7 separate regions of the Homo sapiens genome follow, and all the other regions are linked to region 1. The links are contacts of gene promoters, found by promoter capture Hi-C in blood cells and fetal thymus (Javierre and others, 2016). All regions are on one chromosome and are shown on one strand. Each heading gives the region's core, a stretch centred on a gene start or on the middle of the fragment in contact. The rest is flanking DNA. Distances are from core to core; before and after follow the strand shown. Region 1 holds the start of RASSF3 (Ras association domain family member 3). Region 2 overlaps HELB (DNA helicase B). Region 3 has its middle 9.7 kb from the start of HELB. Region 4 overlaps IRAK3 (interleukin 1 receptor associated kinase 3). Region 5 overlaps IRAK3 (interleukin 1 receptor associated kinase 3). Region 6 overlaps IRAK3 (interleukin 1 receptor associated kinase 3). Region 7 has its middle 7.7 kb from the start of TMBIM4.

What was found. The method cuts DNA at HindIII sites, captures the fragments that hold promoters and counts their contacts. A CHiCAGO score of 5 or more calls a contact.
Region 2: a contact is called between a fragment that was not itself captured here and the fragment with the promoter of RASSF3 in region 1, in 1 of 17 cell types (non-activated CD4 T cells). The highest score is 8.8, in non-activated CD4 T cells.
Region 3: a fragment that was not itself captured here is called in contact with the fragment with the promoter of RASSF3 in region 1 in 4 of 17 cell types (non-activated CD4 T cells, total CD4 T cells, naive CD8 T cells and 1 more); the score reaches 8.5 in non-activated CD4 T cells.
Region 4: a contact is called between a fragment that was not itself captured here and the fragment with the promoter of RASSF3 in region 1, in 1 of 17 cell types (neutrophils). The highest score is 5.1, in neutrophils.
Region 5: a contact is called between a fragment that was not itself captured here and the fragment with the promoter of RASSF3 in region 1, in 1 of 17 cell types (neutrophils). The highest score is 5.7, in neutrophils.
Region 6: a contact is called between a fragment that was not itself captured here and the fragment with the promoter of RASSF3 in region 1, in 3 of 17 cell types (total B cells, monocytes and neutrophils). The highest score is 10.5, in total B cells.
Region 7: a fragment that was not itself captured here is called in contact with the fragment with the promoter of RASSF3 in region 1 in 1 of 17 cell types (monocytes); the score reaches 7.1 in monocytes.

What each region holds. Positions count from the first base shown.
Region 1 is chr12:64,608,977-64,612,175 of GRCh38, forward strand. RASSF3 (Ras association domain family member 3) reads left to right here and starts at 1,519. Exons shown (of 5, transcript NM_178169.4): 1 at 1,519-1,767. The coding sequence starts at 1,657. It overlaps RASSF3-DT (RASSF3 divergent transcript), which reads right to left and starts at 490. Exons shown (of 2, transcript NR_187549.1): 1 at 369-490. RefSeq lists enhancers at 59-108, 329-388 and silencers at 1,019-1,088, 1,249-1,768, 1,979-2,048. The HindIII fragment of the contact is 11,544 bases long and covers 1-3,199 here.
Region 2 is chr12:66,313,218-66,316,416 of GRCh38, forward strand. It overlaps HELB (DNA helicase B), which reads left to right. Exons shown (of 13, transcript NM_001370285.1): 5 at 769-946; 6 at 2,025-2,166. Among named protein-coding and RNA genes, the nearest start is that of HELB, 12 kb to the left of the region's middle. The HindIII fragment of the contact is 1,502 bases long and covers 932-2,433 here.
Region 3 is chr12:66,291,198-66,294,396 of GRCh38, forward strand. It overlaps the pseudogene RN7SKP166. Among named protein-coding and RNA genes, the nearest start is that of HELB, 9.7 kb to the right of the region's middle. The HindIII fragment of the contact is 9,012 bases long and covers 1-3,199 here.
Region 4 is chr12:66,246,738-66,249,936 of GRCh38, forward strand. It overlaps IRAK3 (interleukin 1 receptor associated kinase 3), which reads left to right. Exons shown (of 12, transcript NM_007199.3): 12 at 958-3,199. The coding sequence ends at 1,434. Among named protein-coding and RNA genes, the nearest start is that of MIR6502, 2.7 kb to the right of the region's middle. The HindIII fragment of the contact is 1,079 bases long and covers 1,233-2,311 here.
Region 5 is chr12:66,230,579-66,233,777 of GRCh38, forward strand. The region is part of intron 8 of IRAK3 (interleukin 1 receptor associated kinase 3); the gene reads left to right. It also overlaps the pseudogene RBMS1P1. Among named protein-coding and RNA genes, the nearest start is that of MIR6502, 19 kb to the right of the region's middle. The HindIII fragment of the contact is 7,657 bases long and covers 1-3,199 here.
Region 6 is chr12:66,194,889-66,198,087 of GRCh38, forward strand. All of the region lies in intron 1 of IRAK3 (interleukin 1 receptor associated kinase 3), which reads left to right. Among named protein-coding and RNA genes, the nearest start is that of IRAK3, 7.3 kb to the left of the region's middle. The HindIII fragment of the contact is 743 bases long and covers 1,261-2,003 here.
Region 7 is chr12:66,176,079-66,179,277 of GRCh38, forward strand. No RefSeq gene overlaps it. Among named protein-coding and RNA genes, the nearest start is that of TMBIM4, 7.7 kb to the left of the region's middle. The HindIII fragment of the contact is 3,272 bases long and covers 92-3,199 here.

The DNA.
Region 1 (3,199 bases), core at 269-2,768:
AAAGGCCCTCCTTCTGGAGTTGTTGTGAATCACGTGGGGTAATATATACTAGTTTACAAGATGGATGTGTAAGCCCGAAGGTGGAGCAGGTTTGCAAGCCTTCTTTCAGCCTAGGGACAGTAGGATGACTCATGAGTCAATTCTTCTCTCCTTCCCGTCATTTCGGGTCCAACTCTTCCTCCTGTAGTCCACAAAAGAGCACGGCTGACCGATACCAAGCAGAGAACCCAGTAGGGTATGTGACCACGTTCAGATCAACAGAACGCAAAGCAGAACGGTCCGAGTACTGCCTCCTACAGCCACTTTCCTTTCTTTAAGCCTCAGCTGCTGCTCTAGGTGTAAAACCGGCATAAAATAGCACTACGTACCTTGCAGAGTTGCTCGGAGGATTGAAGGAGATAATGTAAGAGAGTTTGGCTAGTTTGGCTATGATGGATGGACATTTTCTCTTTTCTAACGTCTCTCTTCCCCTCCTAATGAAACCTCTTCTGAAGCTCGCTAACTATAGCAGGGCTTGCAGCTTCAAAAAAACCTTTCAGTCAAGATCTTGAAATTAGTATTATTTAAATCAGTGCAGTAACACCAAGGTGTAAAAGACTGTTACCCACTGGTGGCTTTAAGAGGATTAGCTGACTGAAGAGTTTTAGAAAACATGGAAACTTTTTTTGTACGTGGATGGATGGAATTCCCTGATCTCCTTATCCCCACCACTTAAACCATGCCTTGTGGGTGACCGTGGAAGGCTGATTGTGGCGGGGACATTTACAAAGCACATTTAATTGATAAGCACTCGATTGTTCTGTAACTATAGAACTAGTTCACCTTTCAGTTGCACTGAGTGCGCCTAAGATAACGATCTTATTTGGAAGTGAGCCCTCGCTAGAAAGAAGGGGAAAAGGGTAAGACCGAAGCTCAAATGAATGACCAGAAAGGATGTTTTCATTCGAATAAACTCAACCCAGTTTTTGACCTCCCCACCCATCTCTGCCAACTTGAAATCCTCCTGGAGGGGCGAGCTGCTGGGGTTCAGGACTGGGCGTTGCGGCTGCAGGAAGCCGTGGGACCTGGGGGGTCCCTCGGCCGGGCAACCCCCACCCACCCCTACAGGACCCTGGTGCGGGGGCGAGCAGGGAGTGGACGCAGAGAAAGTTCCCCGCTCTGCTCCCGCCCTCTCCGAAACTCGAGCCAGCGAGGCTGGGGGCGGGCGGACGGCTCGCAGAGGAATTTGCAGTTTCCGGGAGGTTGAGGAAGCGACCCGAGCACAGCCCCAGCAGACGCAGCCCTAGCGCCCGGCTTTCCGGGTTCCGCGACGCTGTCGGGAGAAACCCGCGCGCCTGGAAGGGGCGGGCCGGGCTCCCCCCACCTGCGGGCGGGCGGGGAGGGTCGCGGCCGCGCGGGGTGGGGCTCGGCCGGTCGCCCGTCCGGGGCGGGGCCCAGGGAGGCGGGGTCGCGGGCGCACCGGGGCCGAGCCGCGCCTGGAGCCTGGCGGGGAGGCGGCAGGAGGGGCCGGGAGAGCCTGATTGAGCGGCGGCCGCAGCTGCATAAGGACTGCCCGGGGCTGCGCGCCGGGAACCTCGCGGGGCTGGCGGGCGCCGCACCCCCTCCCTGGCCGCCTGCGCCCCGGGGAGGCCGCCCGCGCGCGACGGGACCGGCAGCATGAGCAGCGGCTACAGCAGCCTGGAGGAGGACGCCGAGGACTTCTTCTTCACCGCCAGGACCTCCTTCTTCAGGAGAGCGCCCCAGGGCAAGCCCCGCTCCGGCCAACAAGTGAGTGGCGCGCGGCGGGCGCTGCAGCCCGCGCCCCAGAGTTCCGGGGAACCCGCCAGCCCGCGCCCCCTGCCTCCACGTGTCTCTGCGGGGCGCTCGGGGGATGCTCGCCGGGAAGGAGGAGCGGGCCGAGAAGTGGCTTCTGCCTTTTCGGGTCCCGGGAACGTGCCTGGAGCTTGTGCGTGTAGGCGAGGGAAGGCGGAGGAAGGGCGGGGAGGCTGAGGGCCGGCTTCTGCCTTCCGCGCCAGATGGCCTCTGCAGCTCCGCCTCGGGCTGCCGCCTGCGGGGAGCAGCCCCGGAGCCAGCAGGCGTCCCCGGGCCACTCCCCCAGGTTTCCCCTTCGCGTCCCCGCTGGGTCGACGGTCGGGTTCGCGCGCCTGTCCTTCCTGTTAGTCAGCTTACTCATCTGTGGCCCCCAGAGTGGCTTGGGTCAACGTGTAATAGCTAGGGGTGGCCGGGTGACCTGACCTCCCCTCTTCCTGGCCCGGGCGACCTGGTGGAGTGGGGGTCCAAGGGCACCGTGGGCCTCGCCACCATAGGCTCTCACTAAATCTCCGTTGCGGGACTCAGGGTTGTGCGTTTTCTGTAAAGCTAGGTTTTTTGGTGCCCAGATGTTTTGCAAACAAGCTCCTATGCTAAATACTAGCCAGCGACAGCTAACCTTTTCGCCGGTTTCTTCCTTTTTTGGAGGCAGCATGCCGTGGGAAGCACGAGTTGGGAAAAGATGGGAAGGGAACTTGTGCCAGTTTCGCCAGCTGTAGCCGTGTTTTTTGGGAGGCCTTCCCGAAACGGGGCACGTCGGCTGGACTGAGGAGCCCGGTGCTAGAGCCCGCGGCCTCCTGGCACTAGGAGCCGCACCAGGGGAGCCGGGCCAACCCGGCCACGCTCACATCAGATTACAGAAGATTGTAATGGCACAAATTTGTTGCTTTTAGAAAACAGGCGTTCGCCAAACATTTCTATTAATACCGGACTGAGACCTAGAGACTAGAAGCAAGAAGAATCGTTCAGGGGCCGGATGATAACTTCTTTTGGTGGATGTGGGAGGGTGCAATCTGTCAGGGTGGTCTTGCCAGACCTCTTAAGTTTAGCCACTTTCTGAAGTAAAATTCTTTCTAAAATTCGGAAGTTCTAGTCTTTTCAGGCTCTTAAGTCCCAAACCAGGAGGAGGAGAGGAGACGGTGAAGGGTAAGCTGAAGTCAAGTGCCCTTATTCAGTAACCGCAGTTAATCTCAAGTCCCGGTGCCATAGTTGTCCGTCTTGTATTGTTTCTAAGGCTTAAGGCCCCACTATTTACGAGTCACTTTGAGTGGGATCTCTTACTTTCAGCAGAGTGTGTTCTGAGAGCATGAGATTGCTGTGAAGTTTGGAAGTTGGAAACGCCCTCTCCTCCCCCATGCCCACCCTCCCTGGGTTGTAGAAAAATTGCATT
Region 2 (3,199 bases), core at 433-2,932, 1.7 Mb after region 1:
ATGTGATATGATACCATTTAGAAAATCTGTACATAACACAGATTGAAAATCTGAAATGCTCCAGTGAGTGTTTCCTTTGAGTGTTATGTCAGTGCTCAAAAAGTTAAGGATTTTGGATTTTGAATTTGCAGATTAGGGATACTCAACCTATAAATGTTCATACTGATGACATAGAAACATTTTTGGGATGATATACACTAAAATATTGAATGTTCTCTGGTTGTAATTTTACAACCAATTTTTTTCTCATCTATATTAAAAAATAATAAATAGTATTACATTTGTAATAAAGAATTTTGTTGTTTATTTGTTGTTGGGGGTGGTGCGGTGGTAGTTTTTAAAAAGTTTTGAGGTGAGGAAGTTTGGAGTACTTGAAAGAAAAAGTAGTATTTTCATAATTCGGTTGAGAAAGCGCTGCTTTTATTCCAGAATGGAGTACTATGGTTGGGAGAAGGGAAGAGCTTCAGTGGCATATCTCAGATGGCCACGAGAAGGTTTATTTGGGAATGGAAAAGAATAGGGAGCTTTCTGTGTTTAAGAACGATGAGGGAAGTGTTGAGATTTTGGAACAATCTGATTTTTTGTTTGTTTGTTTTTAGATTTATTTGGTCTGTCTGTTCTGCATATTCAACCCTATAACTTTTGTGTTTCTTTACTTCCCACCCACCCCTGCCAATTTACGAGTTTTGCCCCAAAATAACTTGCTATTAATTTTTGGTTTTGTAGATTTTATAACCTGACTTTAGGAATGCCATACTTTGCTTGTAGGTCAATTATAGCTTCTATTCATGGACTCAAACAATGATGACCACAAACAAACCATGGAAATTTTCTTCGGTTAGAGTTCTGGTTGTGGATGAAGGGAGTTTGGTATCTGTAGGAATCTTCAAATCGGTCTTAAATTTATTGTGTGAGCACTCCAAACTTTCTAAGCTTATTATCCTTGGTAAGTTAAAATATTGTTGGAATTCTGATGTTTATTTCAAAGTATTGTGGTTAGTTGGTTGTTTACACCATTTAGTTGGTTGTTTACACCAGAATTGATACCAAAGCTACACGAAGATACCAAAGCTACATGAAATTAAATCTGACCACTCTCCTAATCAGCTTGGGTTGTTTTGTTTTGGCCAGGATATTAGCTGGCTGGGATGTGAATGAAATAGGGTTGTTAAGGGCTACTGCTAATCACCTAAATGATGGCTATTAAAATAGTAAAAGTGCCACAGATTCAGAGTAAATCAGGATGTGAATCATTTGGAAATGATAAAAAGTTTGAATTATAGGCCACTTAAAAGTAATTTCATAATGCTAAGCTAATAAATCAGACCTCACCAGCCTCTTAAGTCCTTCCAATTCTGATAAGATTCAGTTAGATTCTCTTGGGTAGTCATGCTCTGTAGACCATATGATTTAATGGAGAAAAAAATAAAATCACAATTGGAGAATCAAGTTGTATATAAAAATTATTATTTTTTTAGGTATTTGAGGATGTCTTTTAAGCAGTTGATTGTATTAATGGCTTAAGCCTTCTCTCTGCTTCCCCCAGTACATGTTTTTCTTATATTTAGGGCTTATTTGTTGCATGCAAAAAATATTTTTAATAGAGCAGAACATCACTATTAGATTACTGGAACGTATCTGTTATCAAATGCATTTATTTATTTGTTTTATATTTTGTACACTTATTTTATCTATTTGAGGCTGTAGATTCTTCCACTTTCAGTAAGACATTGAACATGATTGAAAAAGGGACTAACTACAAATGTCTAAGGCCTGTTTTTTTTTTCCCCTAATATGTTGACTAAAACATATGCCTGTACCCAGTTTCCCTGTGGTTATAGGTATGAAAGATGTTCTATTTAGATTTTGTCACCTTATTGTGTTATTACTATTTTTATATCTTTTACTGTTTAAATGTTGTTTTTTGTAAGGTATTTAACTTTAAACTGTTAAATAATTTTAAACAATCTTGGGGGTATTTTTTCTCAGAGTAAGTCTTGCTACTGTATCTTTTTTTCTTTTAGGTGACATTAGACAGTTACCCAGTATTGAACCTGGTAACTTGCTGAAAGATCTTTTTGAGACTCTTAAGTCAAGAAATTGTGCTATTGAGCTAAAGACAAACCATAGAGCAGAATCTCAGCTCATTGTGGACAATGCTACAAGGTATAATATTACTAAGAGTTTGCATTTTCTGTCTGTTGTATTAGAAATTTAAAAAATGGCCTTTGAATTAGAATGATTTAGTACAATACATTAACTACACCTTTTAGCAAAACTCTTCCATCCTTCAACTATAAACCTTTTGCCCTACAGTTAGAAAAGCAAAGTTAATGTTTTTCATTACTGGTCCAGTATAAGTTATTATTGAAATTTAAAAATGGATGAGGTTTCCTGATTTTAAAAGTATGTATATGAATTAAAATTGTATTAAGCTTAAGGACTAGAATAAGCCCAAGGGGAATGGAGATTTGGAAATAAGTTCATTTACGTGCAAGGGAGAATTGGGGAAGAAATATCCCCTAATTTTTGTGGGAGAAAGCTGAAGGCAAAATAATTGAATGTGGTATTTCACTCCTAGATGAATCCTAGAGGCACCCATGGCATCTTACTTCCCTTAAATAGAAAAGAACCCTTCTCTTCCCTTCGTCTTTGCATAAGCCTTTGGAGTTATCCTCTGTCAGCTCAGACATTTGGTTTCTCCATAATCCACACATATGAAAATCACAATCATTATTATTTCATGACTTTTTTTTAATACAGTCATGCGCCACATAATGTTTGGTCAACAACAGAGCACATCTATGACAGTGGTGCCATAAGATTATAAAACTATAATTTTACTGTACCTTTTCTATGTTTAAATATGTTTACATACACACAAATACTTACCATTGTGTTACAGTTGGGTACAGCACTTGGTACAGTAGCATGCTGTGCAGGTTTGTAGCCTAGGAGCAATAGGCTGTACTATATAGCCTAGATGTATAGTAGGCTATACCATCCAGGTTTGTGTAAGTACACTCTATGCTATTCACACGACGATGAACATTGCCAAATGATGCTTTTCTCAAAACATATCCCTATCATTAATCGATGTGACTGTATTAAAATCTCTAGATATAATGGGACCTTTGAATACTGAGTCTATGTTAGTCATTGTACCAAAATGTATATCTGGTTTTTACTCTTTTTTACA
Region 3 (3,199 bases), core at 238-2,737, 1.7 Mb after region 1:
TTCAGCCACTCCCAACTTTAAGCAAGTTATCTAACCTCTCAGCAGAAGTTTCCTCATAAGTAAGATAGATGCTTTAATGTTAACTATTTCATGAGGCTTTTGTGAAGAGTAAATGAGTTAATTGAAGGAGAGGACTTTGTGATGTGTGGAAAGCACAATGTAAACACTCAGTATTAGCCATTATAATTGTTGTTGTTTATAATTAAGGGAGGAAGTTAAATATATAAAATTGTTCTGTTTTCTGAGTGTGAAAGCATTGTCTTTGTACTCTCCAAATTCTGGGGTTTTTTTGTTTGTTTGTTTTCAGAAAAAAAACAAAAACAAAAACAGAGTCTTGCTCTGTCACGTAGGCTGGAGTGCAGTGGCACCATCTCCGCTAACTGCAACGTCAGCCTCCCAGATTCAAACAATTCTCCTGCCTCAGCCTCCCGAGCAGCTGGGATTATAGGTGCCTGCCACCACGCCCGGCTAATTTTTTGTATTTTTAGTAGAGAATGGGTTTCACCATGTTGGCCAGGCTGGTCTCAGACTCCTAACCTCAGGTGATCCACCCGCCTTGGCCTCCCAAAGTGCTGGGATTACAGCATGAGCCACCACTCACAGCCTATGTTTTCTTACATCAAAAATAAAATCTCAGAGATTTTGCATTCTTTAATGAATTCTGCATTGTGTAACACGAGTTATTACTGCATTATGGCTTTGTTTTTTAAAGGAGAATTTTCCAACTCTTTTGAAACTCCCCTGCATCTGCTGTCCATATCTTCATCACATTATCTTTCCACATTCTCCTTCCTGTCTCCCTTTCAGTCATTCTTTCCCTTTTTGCTCATCATTATTCCAACCTAGTTCTTCATATCTCACTTTTCTCCAATGCAGGATGATTTTCTCCCTTCTTGGCCAGAAGTGGATGTTGTATATGAAATCTTGTCACAAATGGAGGAAATTTCCAGCCATTTAAAATAAATCAGGAAAACAGACCTGCTGATCTGAATGTAGTTTATCTTTTGCAACAAGAGTGACTCTGTGGAATGCTCAAATATATTTCTATTCCAGAAAGTCAGTCTTCATCTATTGATGATTATAGATTGCATAAGCATAGCACTTTTCACATGTTCCCTGATTTGCATTCCTTCTATTCAATAATTCATTCCATAGCCCATACAACACAATATCTCATTGTCAATTTTTAATATCTCTACCTTGGTTTCAATCCATCATTCTATCTGAAATAGCAAAACCTCACTACAGTCATGCTCTGTGTTAGTTCATTTTTTGCTGCTTGTAACAGAATACTTAAAACTGGATAATTTATAAAGAAAAGGAATTTGTTTATAACTTAGAGTTATGGAGGCTGGAAAGTCTGAGGTAGAGAGAACATATCTGGTGAAAGCCTTCTTGCTGGTGGAGCAACAGGCGGCATCACATGGTGAGGGGACTGAACATGTTAGTTCAGGTCTCTCTTCTTCTCATAAAGCTACCAGTCCTGGATGTGAGGGTGATCTGTCTGTGACATCTGCCACCCCATTGATAGCCCGAGTTGACTTGGCTGATCTGGCCAGCTAGGCGGTTGTCCCCTTCCTCCCTCACCACTCCATGTGTGTCCCTCCCAAAGCTGTGCTCGGTGAAAGAGGATTACCATCCCTGATAGAAGAGGACTGGTCTTCGGTCAAGGGTATACGGGCAACTGCGCTCCCCTGCTAGAACCTCCAAACAAGCTCTCAAGGTCCACCAGTCCCACTCCCATGATAACCCATTAATCCATTGACCCATTAATCCATGAGTGGATTAATCTATTCACGAGGGAAGATACCTCATGACCCAATCACCTCTTAAATGATATGAAATGAATATACCTCATGACCCTCCTCACCTCTCAGTGCTGCCACATTGGGGATTAAGTTTCAACATGAATTTTTTTTTTCTTGAGATAGAGTGTTGTTCTGTCACCCACGCTAGAGTGCAGTGGCGCTATCTTGCCTCACTGCAACTTCCGCCTCCTGGGTTCAAGCAATTCTCGAGCTTCAGCCTCTCCATAGCTGGGATTATAGGTGTGTGCCACCACGCCTGGCTAACTTTTTGTATTTTTAGTAGAGATGGGGTTTCACCATGTTGGCCAGGCTGATCTGGAACTCCTGATCTCAAGTGATCTGCCCATCTCAGCCTCTCAAAGTGCTGGGATTACAAGCGTGAGCCATGCCGCCTGGCCCTCAACATGAATTTTGCAAGAGACAAATATTCAAACCATAGCACTCTCTATCCCCTTTCTCTCTTTTATCTTTGCTTCTGGTTCTCATCATCATTTGATATTACTTTTACTTGCTCCCTGGCTCCTTCTTAGGATGGATCCTTGCTCCTTCTTAGGATGGATCCTTGCTCCTTCTTAGGATGTACAAGGACTTGGTCTGTTTTGTTTACTGTTATTCTCCAGTACCCAGAACAGTAACTATCCTAAAATATGTATTGACTGAATAAATGAATTGTAGTCATCTACTTCTTAGTAATACTTTGCAAATGTTTGCTTTTTAAAAAGTTATACTTATCATATAGGATGAGATAAATAGTTTTCATAAAATGCCTAACAAAGACCAACATGATCAGCTAGAAACTGATCCCCAGCTCCATCTCTCTGTGGTAGCAGAGTTGATGCATTTTTGTTTTAGTGCTCACCTCAACCATGGCATGTTTGTTAGGAAAGGAGCTTCCAGAAAATGTATTTAGGAAAGCAATTCTTTTTCTTTTTCTTTTTCCTTTTTCTTTTCTTTTCTTTTCTTTTCTTTCATTTATTTTTTGGGTTAGGGTCTCACTATGTCACCCGGGCTGGAGTGCAATGGCACAATCGTAGCTCACTGAAGCCTTGAACTTCTGTCCCCAAACGATCCTGTTGCCTCAGCCTCCAAAGTAGCTGGGACTATAGGTTTGCACCGCCATGCCCAGCTTATTATTGTGTGTGTGTGTGTGTGTGTGTGTGTGTGTGTGTGTGTGGTGATGGGGTCTCTCTTTGTTGCTTAGGCTGGTCTCAAACTGCTGGCCTCAAGCAATCCTCCCACCTCGGCCTCCCACAACTCTGGAATTACTAGTGTGAGCCACCGTGCTCATTGGGAGGCAGTTCTTTTGTTTTTATTTTTATTTTTTGAGATGGAGTGTCACTCTGTCACCCAGATAGGAGTGCAGTGGCACGATCTCAGCTCACTGCAACCTC
Region 4 (3,199 bases), core at 522-3,021, 1.6 Mb after region 1:
AAGCACTTTGTAAACTGTAAAGCTCTCTATATGTATTTTTTTAATTACGTGTGTGTGTGTATATGAAGGTATGTTGTATGGTGTATTAATTACATCAAGGGTTCTCACATCTAGCTGTACATCCAAATCATCCGAAGCTTCTAACATACAGATTCCTGGACCTTCAACACCTTATGTTTTGAATGACAATCTCTATGTTGGGACCAAGGGATATGCACTTTAAAAGAGCTCCCTAAAACTTCTGGCATTTAGTCAGGGGCCCTGGCTCACGACTGTAATCCCAGCACTTTGAGAGTCTGAGGTGGGTGGATCAGCTGAGGTCAGGAGTTTGAAACCAGCCTGGCCAACATGGCGAAACCCCATCTCTACTAAAAATACAAAAATTAGCTGGGCATGGTGGCACGTGCCTGTAATACCAGCTACTTGGGAGGCTAAGGCAGGAGGATTGCCTGAACCTGGGAGGCGTAGGTTGCAGTTAGCCGAGATTATCCCACTGCGCCACAGCCTGGGCAACAGAGTGAGACTCCATCTCAAAAAAAAACAAAACAAACAAACAAACAAAACAAGAACAACAACAAAAAACTGGCATTTAAGAATTACAGGTTGGGCCCACCATTTCCTTATTCCCTTCCAATCTTCCACATATTATGGTTGAAGTAAAAAATGTAGAGACTTGCCCAAGTTCACAAAGCTAGTTGGTGGCAAATCTGAGGCTTAAGTCAGGTCTCTTGGTATTTACTTTAGTGTAGTTTCTTTTATACCTGGTTTTAAGTCACTTAATTTACTCCTCAAAATAAAGGGCGTTAGCTAATCTTTAAGATCCCTTCTAATTCAAAATTCTATAGCTGAACTAATTTCATGAAAATGAAAGAATATTCTTTATAGGTAGAGTGATAAAAGGTAAAAGGAAAGATTATTCAAACTTAATTTAATGTCTGTTTGCTTCTTTGTTATTAGGTTTTAAATACTCTTGAAAGTACTCAAGCCAGCTTGTATTTTGCTGAAGATCCTCCCACATCACTAAAGTCCTTCAGGTGTCCTTCTCCTCTATTCCTGGAGAATGTACCAAGTATTCCAGTGGAAGATGATGAAAGCCAGAATAACAATTTACTACCTTCTGATGAAGGCCTGAGGATAGACAGAATGACTCAGAAAACTCCTTTTGAATGCAGCCAGTCTGAGGTTATGTTTCTGAGCTTGGACAAAAAGCCAGAGAGCAAGAGAAATGAGGAAGCTTGCAACATGCCCAGTTCTTCTTGTGAAGAAAGTTGGTTCCCAAAGTATATAGTTCCATCCCAGGACTTAAGGCCCTATAAGGTAAATATAGATCCTTCTTCAGAAGCTCCAGGGCATTCTTGCAGGAGCAGGCCAGTGGAGAGCAGCTGTTCCTCCAAATTTTCCTGGGATGAATATGAACAGTACAAAAAAGAATAAATTCTACCAGAAGATAAAGAAAAAAGCAAGTATTGCATAGGCACCTGAGCATAGGTATGACCTTGGGAAGACATTGGCTCCATAAGCAATGCCAAGAGAATGATCAATAGTGAGTTTGGGTGATGCAGATAAACAATCTGGATAATTCCATTTCTTTTTTCCCAAACCCTCAAACAGAGTGCCTTAAAAAATTGTTTTATCAGGATAATTGTCTCATGACCAAATCCACGCTCAATTAGAGCCATTCAAAATTCCTTAAGATCATGGGTTCTGACTTCAGCCAAACAAAACAATCAAAACCTACCAAAAAGGGACTGGATTGTAATGTCCTCTCCATCATCCTCAGTGTGAGTCCTCAGAGCCTCCATCTGCCAAGAACATTCAGTTGGATTCCATCGTTTGGTTTAGCTTGCTTGCACGGGTTGTAGGAAATGTCTAATTTGTAAATGTTAATAGATACCTTTGGAAAGAATCACCTTGTTATTCTGATTGACCCCTCTTGTTTTTTGGTTAATCCCTGACTAGCCTGCTTGTCTGAAAATGAGCCAGGTTCACCCTTAGCTACGGCATGCTCTGGGTTGAAAGGGGATTTCTTCCCAAGATCTATCCTAAACTCTTAGGACAGTTTATCCTGTATTGACTATTATTACAGCTTTTTAAAAACAGACTTAGTGACCTATTATATCTTAAGGAGACTATGTGAAATGTCCATCAAGTAATTTTTATTCCTGAGAAAATGGCTGGTCAAGGGCCTAGGTCAGCTTTTTGTTTAATCTACACCTTTCAACTCTGGGCCTTCATTCCTGCTGTTTCTTGGATCTCCCTCTTTTGAAATCCTACCAATCATCAGAGCTCTACAAAACAGCCACCTCCTGGAAGCTTCCCTAATCTCTACAACCAGAAGTACTCCCTTTATCAGTATTTCCACAGCAATTTCTTTGTATTTCTATTTTATATTTATCACTTTCTGAATTATATCAAAGCTGCTTGTCTTATCTCTTTTTTTTTTTGAGACGGAGTCTCGCTCTGTCATCCAGGCTGGAGTGCAGTGGCACAATCTCGGCTCACCGCAAGGTCTGCCTCCCGGGTTCACGCCATTCTCCTGCCTCAGCCTCCCGAGTAAAGGTGGGACTACAGGCGCCCGCCACTACGCCCGGCTAATTTTTTGTATTTTTAGTAGAGACGGGGTTTCACCATGTTAGGCAGGATGGTCTCGATCTCCTGACCTCATGATCCGCCTGCCTGGCCTCCCAAAGTGCTGGGATTACAGGCGTGAGCCACCGCGCCCAGCCTTCATCTCTTTTACTAGGTTGTAAACTCCCTATATTAGTTTTCTATTGTTTTTGTAACACATTATCACAAATTTAGTGACTTAAAGTAACATAAATTAATTATTTTGCAGTTCTGGAGGTCAGAATTCCTTAGCATTCTTTCTGGAGGCTGTTGGGGAGAACTCACTGCCTTGCCTTTTCCAGCTTCTAGAGGCCACCTGCCTTCTTTGGCTCATGGCCTCTTCCTCCGTCTTCAAAGCCAGCAACGTGACATTTCAGATCTCCCTCTCTCTGTCTGTCTCACCGCATCTCTTCACTACCCTCTTCCTCTCATTCTGGCCCTTCTGCATGTCTTTTATAAAGACCTTTGTGATTTCACTGGGCCCACTCATATAAGCCAGGAAAATCTCTGTGTCTCAGATCCTTAATTTAATTACACCTGCAAAGTCCGTTTTCTCGTGTAAAGTAACATATTCACAGGTTTCTGGAATTGG
Region 5 (3,199 bases), core at 405-2,904, 1.6 Mb after region 1:
CTGTGGCTCAGCTGTGAGCCATCTTTAGCCAACTCTTACTGCTGGGGAACCAGAGCCTCCCTGGAACCCAAGGAGGGAGCCAAGTAGGGTGGGGAAGGACAGGGTGGGGAAGGAAGGGGTCGGGGGGCGGTGTGGAGTCATGGTGGGAGAGTGCACCATGGCAGCCACCACAGCTATGAAGGAAGATTTGACAGGACAGAGTTCTGAAAAATGTGACTCGAAGATTTTTCTTTTTCACATGTTTGCTCCCCACCCTCCTCCCATCCTTTTCTCTTAGCTCAGTGTCCCCTAATGTTTAAATCAGAGAGACCTTCCACTTAAAATGCGATTCTGAGCAAATTGCTTAATGTCTCTAAGCCTCAATCTTCCTCTCTGCAAAATGTTAGTAGTAGAATAATAGCTTCTATCTCCTAGGGTTAAATGGCATAAGGTCCTTGACAAAGAGCACACACATCTTCAGTGGTAATTCCTATCCTGACTGGTTGAGAAGTGGTGGGAGTGGCACAGTGACAGAGGCCAAGTAGTGTGGTGGCCAATCAGTCTTTTTACTTAACACTCTTACCTCTATCGTCAATTTATAGTGTTTGAAAAGTGGACCCACTGACTAAGCTCTAGTTTAAGAAAAATTACTTCTCTGTTAATATGTTTACTGGCCAGGTGTGGTGGCTCACATCCATAATCCCAGCACTTTGGGAGGCCAAAGTGGGCCAATTACGTGAAGCCAGGAGTTCAAGACCAGCTTGGCCAACATGGTGAAACCCCATTCTCTACTTTAAAAAAAAAAAGTGTTTATTAAATATCTTGACAATCCCATTCATCTTACTTCACAAATATTTATAGAACATCTGTTGTGTGCAGAGCATTGTGTTAGACCACAGGGGGAGAGACAGTGATGATAATAGTCTTGTCCTTGAAGGTTCAACCTGGTGATCAGAAAGATAACACAAACACAAAATGTGTAGTGCAATGGTAACTATGCCCACTGAGTGGTTGGTCTGAGAAGGCTTCCTCTCGTTAGAGAGTTCCAAGCCAAGTCTTGGAAAAAGTGGGTCATTGCAGTGGATTGGTTGAAAGAAGCGGAGAGAATATTCCTGGTGGAGGCAATAATTTGTTCAAAGGAACAGAGTAAAGAATTGCCACGTATATAGTAAAAGCAAGAGAAATCAGTTGGTTGGAAAAGAAAGGACAAGGTTGGAGAATAAGATAAGGTGAGACTACAGAAGAATGAGGACTGTGGTGAGCAGGGGATGGAATGCAGCTTTGGATTCTGACTAGGCTGAGGAACTAGGTTTGACAAGCTGGGCTCTAGTGAAAGTCTGCAGCTTGTCTAGGATATAGGTGGAAACTGAAAGGTTCTAGAGTCTCTTAGGTGGTCTCACAACTTAAGAGGAGGCCAGTTCTTCCAGGTCACTATCCCAGGAACTTGTCTGGATGTGCAGAACTATAAAAATCATTTAAGCAACACTGCTAGACAGAATGCCCAACAGGTAACAAAGATACAGAGTACCCAGAGAGATCTGATCAGAAACAAGAATATTATGGAAGAGACAAGGCTTGAAATGCATCTAGCAATGTATTTTATATTTTACTTGGTGGTGGGGCTGCTGACAATTGTTGCCTTTCTGAGTGTTCCAAAGAGTTCAAGGACTTCAATGTAACCCATCCATAGAATGTGCCCACCCAGGCATGTGTCAGGGTATGGAGATCCATGGCTGTGGGCATTTGTTTGAGAACTGTGGTTTCACAAGGGCTCATCAATGTGTCCCTGCCTGTTCCAAAGCAAATCAGTCCCTTCCACGGCCATTGAACTTTTGGCCTTTCTGCTGAGCCTGCCAGCAAAGATGTTAATTAGTGCCAACTATAACAGTAGATTTCCCCCTCGTGTTTGGTGATATGCACACCTGTTCTCTAGAAGCTGGAATGAAACTAACTCAGTTCATTTGGGCCACTGAACACCTGTCAGATGGTAATGACAGTCAGTCCCCAGCAGCCTCGGCCAGATGTGATTGGCTGACCTAGATTACCCTCCTGAATCTCTTTTAAATGAATCCTCCACTGTGCTCTAAACCTAGGCCTCCCTGAGTGTTGGTCCCTCTGTGTGTAGCTCAGTGCTTTTAGGACTGAGCTGTCCAAATCCCTGCCTGTTTTGCCTTTGTCATATTAATTTTCTAAATCTATGTAAGGGAAGATAGCTTCTAGGAGGGATGCAGTTTTATTGTACGGCTTTGATAATTGGCTGAGAAAAGGACATCTCAAAATCTGTGTTAAACAGTGGCCTTTTCCCAGAGTAATTCAGGGCTCTGTTTTTATTGGAGGAGTGAACAATGGAAGATGCTGTTACCTTTATTTTCTTTTCTGTATTTGGGCTTCAGAGTGATGAGTCACAAAAGACTTTATCCTAACCCTTTGATATTATTATTATTATTATTATTATTATTTTTAAAAAGCCAAAATTTCAGCAACTTTTATTGACTACCTTTTAAAAGCCCTATGCTGCTGTTTTACAAGGCATAATAGACCAGCTCATCTGGTCAAAGCATTCTACATCATTAGTTTGAACTAACTTTTACTGAAACAGCTACAGCATCAAAAGAGTTAAGGCAAATTGGAATTCATAGAAAAGGATAAGACACTTCACACTGCATTGAAAGAAAGACAGGCCGGGCGCGGTGGCTCACGCCTGTAATCCCAGCACTTTGGGAGGACGAGGCAGGCGGATCACGAGGTCAGCAGATCGAGACCATCCTGGCTAACACGGTGAAACCCCGTCTCTACTAAAAATACAAGAAATTAGCCGGGCATAGTGGCGGGCGCCTGTAGTCCCAGCTACTTGGGAGGCTGAGGCAGGAGAATGGCGTGAACCCGGGAGGCGGAGCTTGCAGTGAGCCGAGATCGCACCACTGCACTCCAGCCTGGGCGACAGAGCGAGACTCCGTCTCGGAAAAAAAAAAAGGCCGGAAAGCTAAGAAGAGAGACACTGACGGCAACACTGAATTACAGCAACACTCGCACTGCAAGCACAGAACACCATGGGTGAAGTCGGACTAGTTAAACTTCAGAAAGCCCATTTCATACAGCTGGAAAAAAAAAACACAGATTAAACACAAAATGAACAAAACCACAAAAATCCGGTCATGCACTTGGATAAGTCTTCACGGTCTTTGTGCATACCCAGAAAATTGAAGTTTTCTTTTCTTTT
Region 6 (3,199 bases), core at 382-2,881, 1.6 Mb after region 1:
AATGTCTTAGCGTGCCCCTGGGCTTAGTCCATGGACCTTGTCTCTTCTGTTTATCTGCTAAATTCACGTAAATTCAATCTATATACTACTCCCAAATTTCTAGCCCAAGTCTCCCTCTGGAATGTCATCTTCATCCATCTATTTGCCTATTTGACAGACATCTCCAATTTAACAGCTCAGAAATGCTCCCCCAGCCCTCCCAAAGTTTTCCCATCTCAGTAATGGCAGTTCCATTCTTCATTTGTTCAGGCCAAAAATATTAGCCTTTTGTGACTTGTCACTTTCTCTCACAAACCACATCCTATCTCTCAGTAAATAATGCTGCTGACTGTGCCTTCAGGATCTGTCTAATAATCTGACCATTTCTTACCACTGCCACCGTAACCATCTTGGCACCAACCACCATCGGTTCCCACCTCTACTATTTTAGCAGTTGGCTGACTGGGCTCAGACTCCCTGCTACTGCCCTTGACCTCCTTGAGTGTCTTTTCAGCCCAGCAGTCGGCAAGCCTGTGATGCCTGTAAAGCATATGCTATCATTGCCCTATTCAGAACCCTCTGGCGGCTTCCCAGGCCAGTCAGAGCAAACCCTGAAGTCCTGTGTGGCTTTTCTCACTTTCTTCTCCCTCTTGTTTGCTTGACTCCAACCACATTAGCCTCCTTGTTCCTTGAACACGCAAGGAACGTTCTTCCTGCCAGTAACCTGTAGGCTTGCTTCTTCACTTCCTTCATGTTTTTGTTTAACTATTACCTACTCTGACCACTCTTTTGTTTTGTTTTGTTTTTTTAAGACGGAGTTTCGCTTTTGTTGCACAGCCTGGAGTGCAATGGTGCAATCTTGGCTCTCTGCAACCTCTACCTCCCGGGTTCAAGAGATTCTCCTGCCTCAGCATCCCGAGTGGGATTACAGGCGCCTACCACAAAACCAGGCTAATTTTTTGTATTTTTAGTAGAGACGGGGTTTAACTATGTGGGCCAGGCTGGTCTCGAACTTCTGGCCTTAGGTGATCCACCCACCTCGGCCTCCCAAAGTGCTGGGATTACAGGTGTGAGCCACCACACCTGGCCATGGCCACTCTTTTAAAATTGACACCCCCCCCCACCACTCTCTTATGCCTCTTTTCCACTTTATTTTTCTCTATATCATTTATCACCTCTCACATACTTTATGTATGTAAGTATCTCTATGTATATATAAAATAAACTATATATATATGTAAACATATATATGTTTATTTGTTTATTCTTCATCTAGAAATAAGCTTCAAGGGAGCAGGGATATTTCCTTCCTTTGTTTCCTGCTGACTCTCTTAGCATCGAAAATTGTACTTGGCACAGAGCAGGCACTCAGTAAATATGTACATTCTGAATAAATTAATGAATCAACAAATGTCTATTAAAAACCTTGTTGGGTTGTCTATTAAAAACCTTGTTGGGCAGAATCTTTGATAAAGCACTGTAAATACAATGTCCTAGTCCCTGCTTGTAAGAATTTTCCAATTTAGTGTAGGCAACAGACCTATAAAAGTTTAACAAGGGAAGAATGTGTGGGGAAATAGTATTGATATTCACCTGGGAATGAAATTACATAGCTTCTGACTGAAACCTTGGTGTTGAGGGTGAATTATCTCCCAGAGGTAGTTAATGTTAGGTTCCTACCTGTGTCTAGGATTAAGAGAGCAGGACAGACAGAGGGGCACCTGAGAAGTCACACACAGCCCTCCGCAGTTATGAGTCCTACTCAGGCATGGGGTAAAACATACACATGAGCTTAAGTATGAATAAGAACTATTTCTTATAAAATATATTAACTAGTAAGTGTTAATGCTAACAGTCTGGTATGAAGAATAGATCTAACTTATAATTTTGACTTTTGTTTTACTCTTTTGGAATTAAAAATGTCTTTAACCTTAAAAGTTCTTTTAAAAAATTGTCTAATTTTTTGCATGCTTTGTAGAAAGAAAGAGACATCTTTCCTTTTTCCCTTACAGTGTCTAAAAACAAGCTTTGTGAGAATGGAGTCTTAATTTTGCAGGGGTTTTGGCATGTGGTTGTATGCAAATACAAAGATTCCAAATACGGATGTGTTGCATTATTTGAAAAAACCCCTTCAGAGACATATTTGCATATGGAGACGTGATTTCTGCAACTGAAAACAGTCAGTCCTGCACTCTCAAAACAGCCTTCAAGGACTTTTGAGCATCTGATTTCTGAACTTCTTAGGTTGACTTTTTGGCTTATGTGACTCCAATACGACTTTCAACAAAGATTTGTGTTCCAAAAAATGGTTTTAAACAATGCTTAACTAACAGCATGTTTTTCTTAATTTGTATTTTCAGTTTAGAATGCTTTTAACTTTATCAACATAATTAGTCATTGAGAACTTTTCTCTGTATTTTTATTTGATATGTACTGCGAGTAAACAAAGTCCTATATTCTGAAAGGGGACACGTAAGGGAGAGTTGAAGAAAATGATAAATATTGAAGAATGTAATTAACATGTTGAGAGTTTGCATTCCTGTTGTATCAGATTGGAGCTATTTTATAGAATTGGATCTAAATGAAGTATACATTTTATGGATGCTAAAAATACTCTTTAGCAATGTTTCTATTCAGAATGCATCATCATTAGAGAAAAGCTATTAAGGTTGCAGTGTGAATCACCAGTTGGAAAAAGAGAAAACATATTTCATTTCCAGTCCGGAAGCAATCCATGCATGCAGGCAGTATTCATTTTAACAGTCTGGATCAGTTTTTTACCATGAACTTCTGCTATTAGAAAAAATGCCTTTGTCTAATCTAGCTTTCCTTAGATGTGATGCAAACTCAGAACTATATGCCCCGGTCAATGTTAGAGACCCTAAAACCCCAGCTCATTTGGCATCTGTTCATTCATATTCCAGCTGAATCTCAGAAATGTGCTTAAGGGAAAGCATCTGATATTAGCAGTTTCTCAGCCAAGTCACAGGACGGGACATCCCAGAGTCATGGCCTGCTGCACTTTTAAAAGGGAAATTCAGGAATCAAAAAAAAAACAAACAGAGAATGGAATTTATGGAAAGTATGGAATGAAAAGCTGACATTCCCTGGGACTTGAAATGTTAACTCTGGATTTCCTTAATAGCTATAAACTGTGCCTTTCCTACTGTGGCAATTGTTGTGAGCTAGAACATGTTTATACCTTTTTATGTATAAATAT
Region 7 (3,199 bases), core at 478-2,977, 1.6 Mb after region 1:
TTGTGCTAATAATTTTAAATGATTTTTTATTTACTACATTAAATAGCAAATAAAAAACATCATGGCAAGTCAAGAGATTTCAAAAGAAACAAGCTTTAATATTTAAGTATCTTTAATAGGGCTTTTTCCTGCTTTTTGAACAAGAGGTCCAACATTTTTACTTCTTGCTGGGCCCCACAAATTATGTAGATGAAGCAATTCCTTTGGAAAATTGGCAGTATCTACCAAAGTTGAACACACACTGCAAGTTCTATTACTTGGCAGTTCTACTCCTAAGTAGAGTATGTGTCCAATAGAAATGCATGCACAAGTTTACAAAAGACATAACCAAGAATATACATAGCCACATTATTCTTAATAGCTAAAATCTAGAAACAACTCAAATTGTCCACTATTGGAAAAAATGAATAAATTATATTCATATAATCACATACTTTATACAATTAAAATGAACAAATTGACATGTTCATGGATGTAGCTTACAAACATAATGCTAAGCAAAAGAAATCAAATGCAAAGAATATATAGAATAGTATAAAGAATAATGTAAAGCTGAAAAGCAAACAAAAGTAATCTATGGTCTTACATATCAGGAAACTGTTTATCTTTGGGGAGGAGGAAGGCATAATCATCAGGAGGAGGTACTTAGAAGGAATTCCAGGATTTCAGTAATGTTCTGTTTCCTGGCTGATTACATAACTTTCACTTCTTGATAATGAGGCAAGCTGTTTATACTTAGGATTTGTGTATATTTTATACTTAAATTTGTATATTATACTTAAATTTTAAAAATTGTCGTAAAAAAGTGAAAAAGTATTTGCTCCCTCTCAGTTTAGATAAGAAAGCTATCTTATGAAAATAAAGCATTTACTTATAGACATGAAATCCAATAACTCAGTAATCTAATGCTTCTCTATTTCTTTTAAAGCTGCAATTTCAAGGAAAGTGCTTTGTAAATAACATCACTAATCCAAAGGAAATTTTATTGATTTTTAAAGACCTATCTGCATGCTTCCTCTTCCCTCTAACCATCTCTTCATCATTCTCACCTCCTTTTCATTTGTGTTTGCTCTCAAACCCCAAGCTAAAACATCTTCTGGACTATTCTCAAACTATGATTCTGTCCTTATTTCTGGATTGCCAGACAACACAAAACGTTTTTGTTTTTGGCTTTTGGATATTAACCTACATTCAACATTAAAGGTCCTGGAGATGTGAGTTGCAATTATCTTTAAAATTGTTTTATCTTTAAAATTTTATTTACAGCTCAACTTTAGTGGCCAGAGTAGTGGAGATTTGTAAGGCTCGTGGATTACTTAAAAAGAGCAAGGGCATTTACAGCCAAATAAACTAGAACACATTGATGTTCTGGGAGGGTGGAGCATCTGGAAAGGGCATGGAAGCTGCATCCTGGGTGCCCTTTCAGACCTTGCAGCCCTATCTCTTTATCTTGCTGTTCATTTGTGTCCTTTATAATAAAATGGTAATAATAAGCATAGCACTTTCTGGAATCCCGTGAATTGTTCTGGTGAGTTATCCAACTTGGAGGGAATCATGGGGACTCTCAAATTTGTATTTAGCTAGGCAGAGATGCAGATAGCTTAGAGATACCTGAGTCTTGTAGCTGGCATCTGAAGTGGGGGCTGATTCATGGGACTGAGACCTTTACTTGTGGGGTCTGCATTAACTCTGGGTAGTTAGTGTTAGAAATTATGGACCTTGTCCTTAACTTGTGGAATCTGTCAGTAGTGTTAGAATTGGGATGAATTGCAGGACACCCAGTTGGTGTTGGAGAATTGTTGTCAGAACATAGCGTGTAAAGTAGTAACACGGTGCCTAGCAAACGGTGAGTGCTCACTAAATGATAGTTGTAATTATTATTGGCTGAAGGCAAGGTCATCACTTCTTTCATTGATTAGACATTTATTGGGAAGTTACTCTGTGCCAAGCAGCATGCAAGGTACACAGAGATGACTGACTCCTCTGCTACACACCAATGCTCCACAAGCCCACAGGAAAACAATACCAAAAAAAGAGTTCTGATGGAAAGTAGTACTGAATGTTATGGAACCTAGAAGAAATGATTAACTCTGGGGAGATTATAAATGATTTCATGGAGATTATAAAGTGTTTCAGTTACCTAGGGCTGCTGTAACCAGTTACCACAAAGAGTGACTTGAAACAACAGAAGTTTCTTCTCTCACGGTTCTGGAAGCCAGAGTTTGAAATCAAGATGTCTGTGTATGGTTTATTCCTTCTAAAGGCTCTGAGGAAGAATCCGTTCCACACCTCTCCCAGCTTCTGGTGGTTGCCAGCAATCTTTGGAGTTCCTTGGCTGTGGCTGCATCATTCCCATCTCTTCCTCAGTTGTTACATGGCCTTTTCCTCCTCTGTGTCTCCAAGTCCAAATTTCTCTCTTCTTATAAAGTCACTAGTCATTGAATTAGGGGCTACCCTAATCCAATATGAGCTTGTCTTAACTTGATTGCATTTGCAGCATCCCTATTTCCAATTAAGGTCACATTCAGAGGTACTCAGGGTTAGGACTTAAACGTACATTTTGGGGGTAAACAATTCAACCTGCAACACAGAAATGGTGGCTTTTCAATTGAGTAATAAAGGATAAGTAGGGGTTCACCAGGTAAGAGATACTGCAAAACCTCAAACATGAAGTAACAAACAAATTGGAAAAGACCCAGACACATATCAGAAATACTACAGAAGAACAAGATTTGGTGACTTATTAGATATAGGTACCTACTACGAGGTGCTCAGTAAATCCTTCTGAAGATAGTATTAATCAGTCAGTCAAAATTACTCAGAGTTACCTTGGCCCATGTGACCAGAAACAAGGAAGTTGATTTTCTAGGAAACAATCAGTTTGGGACATGATGATTTGAGATGAAAGCAAGAAATCCAAATGAAATTTTTCAATAAATGCAGGAGGTGAGAAGAGAATCTGCAGGGCAGGTTAGGGCTGATGACACAAATATCAAAGTAGTTGACTTAGAGATTGATAGATGAAGAATGAGATTATATGAAACCTCTAAGACAAAATAAGAAGATCAACAAATTCAGCCTATGGGTACATTATACAGGCCAGAAGAAGAGCTAGTTAAGAAAACAGAAGAAACAGTCAGTATGTAGGAAAAAAAAATACTGAGTATCATCATGGAGGACAAAAAAGGCAAAAATTCAA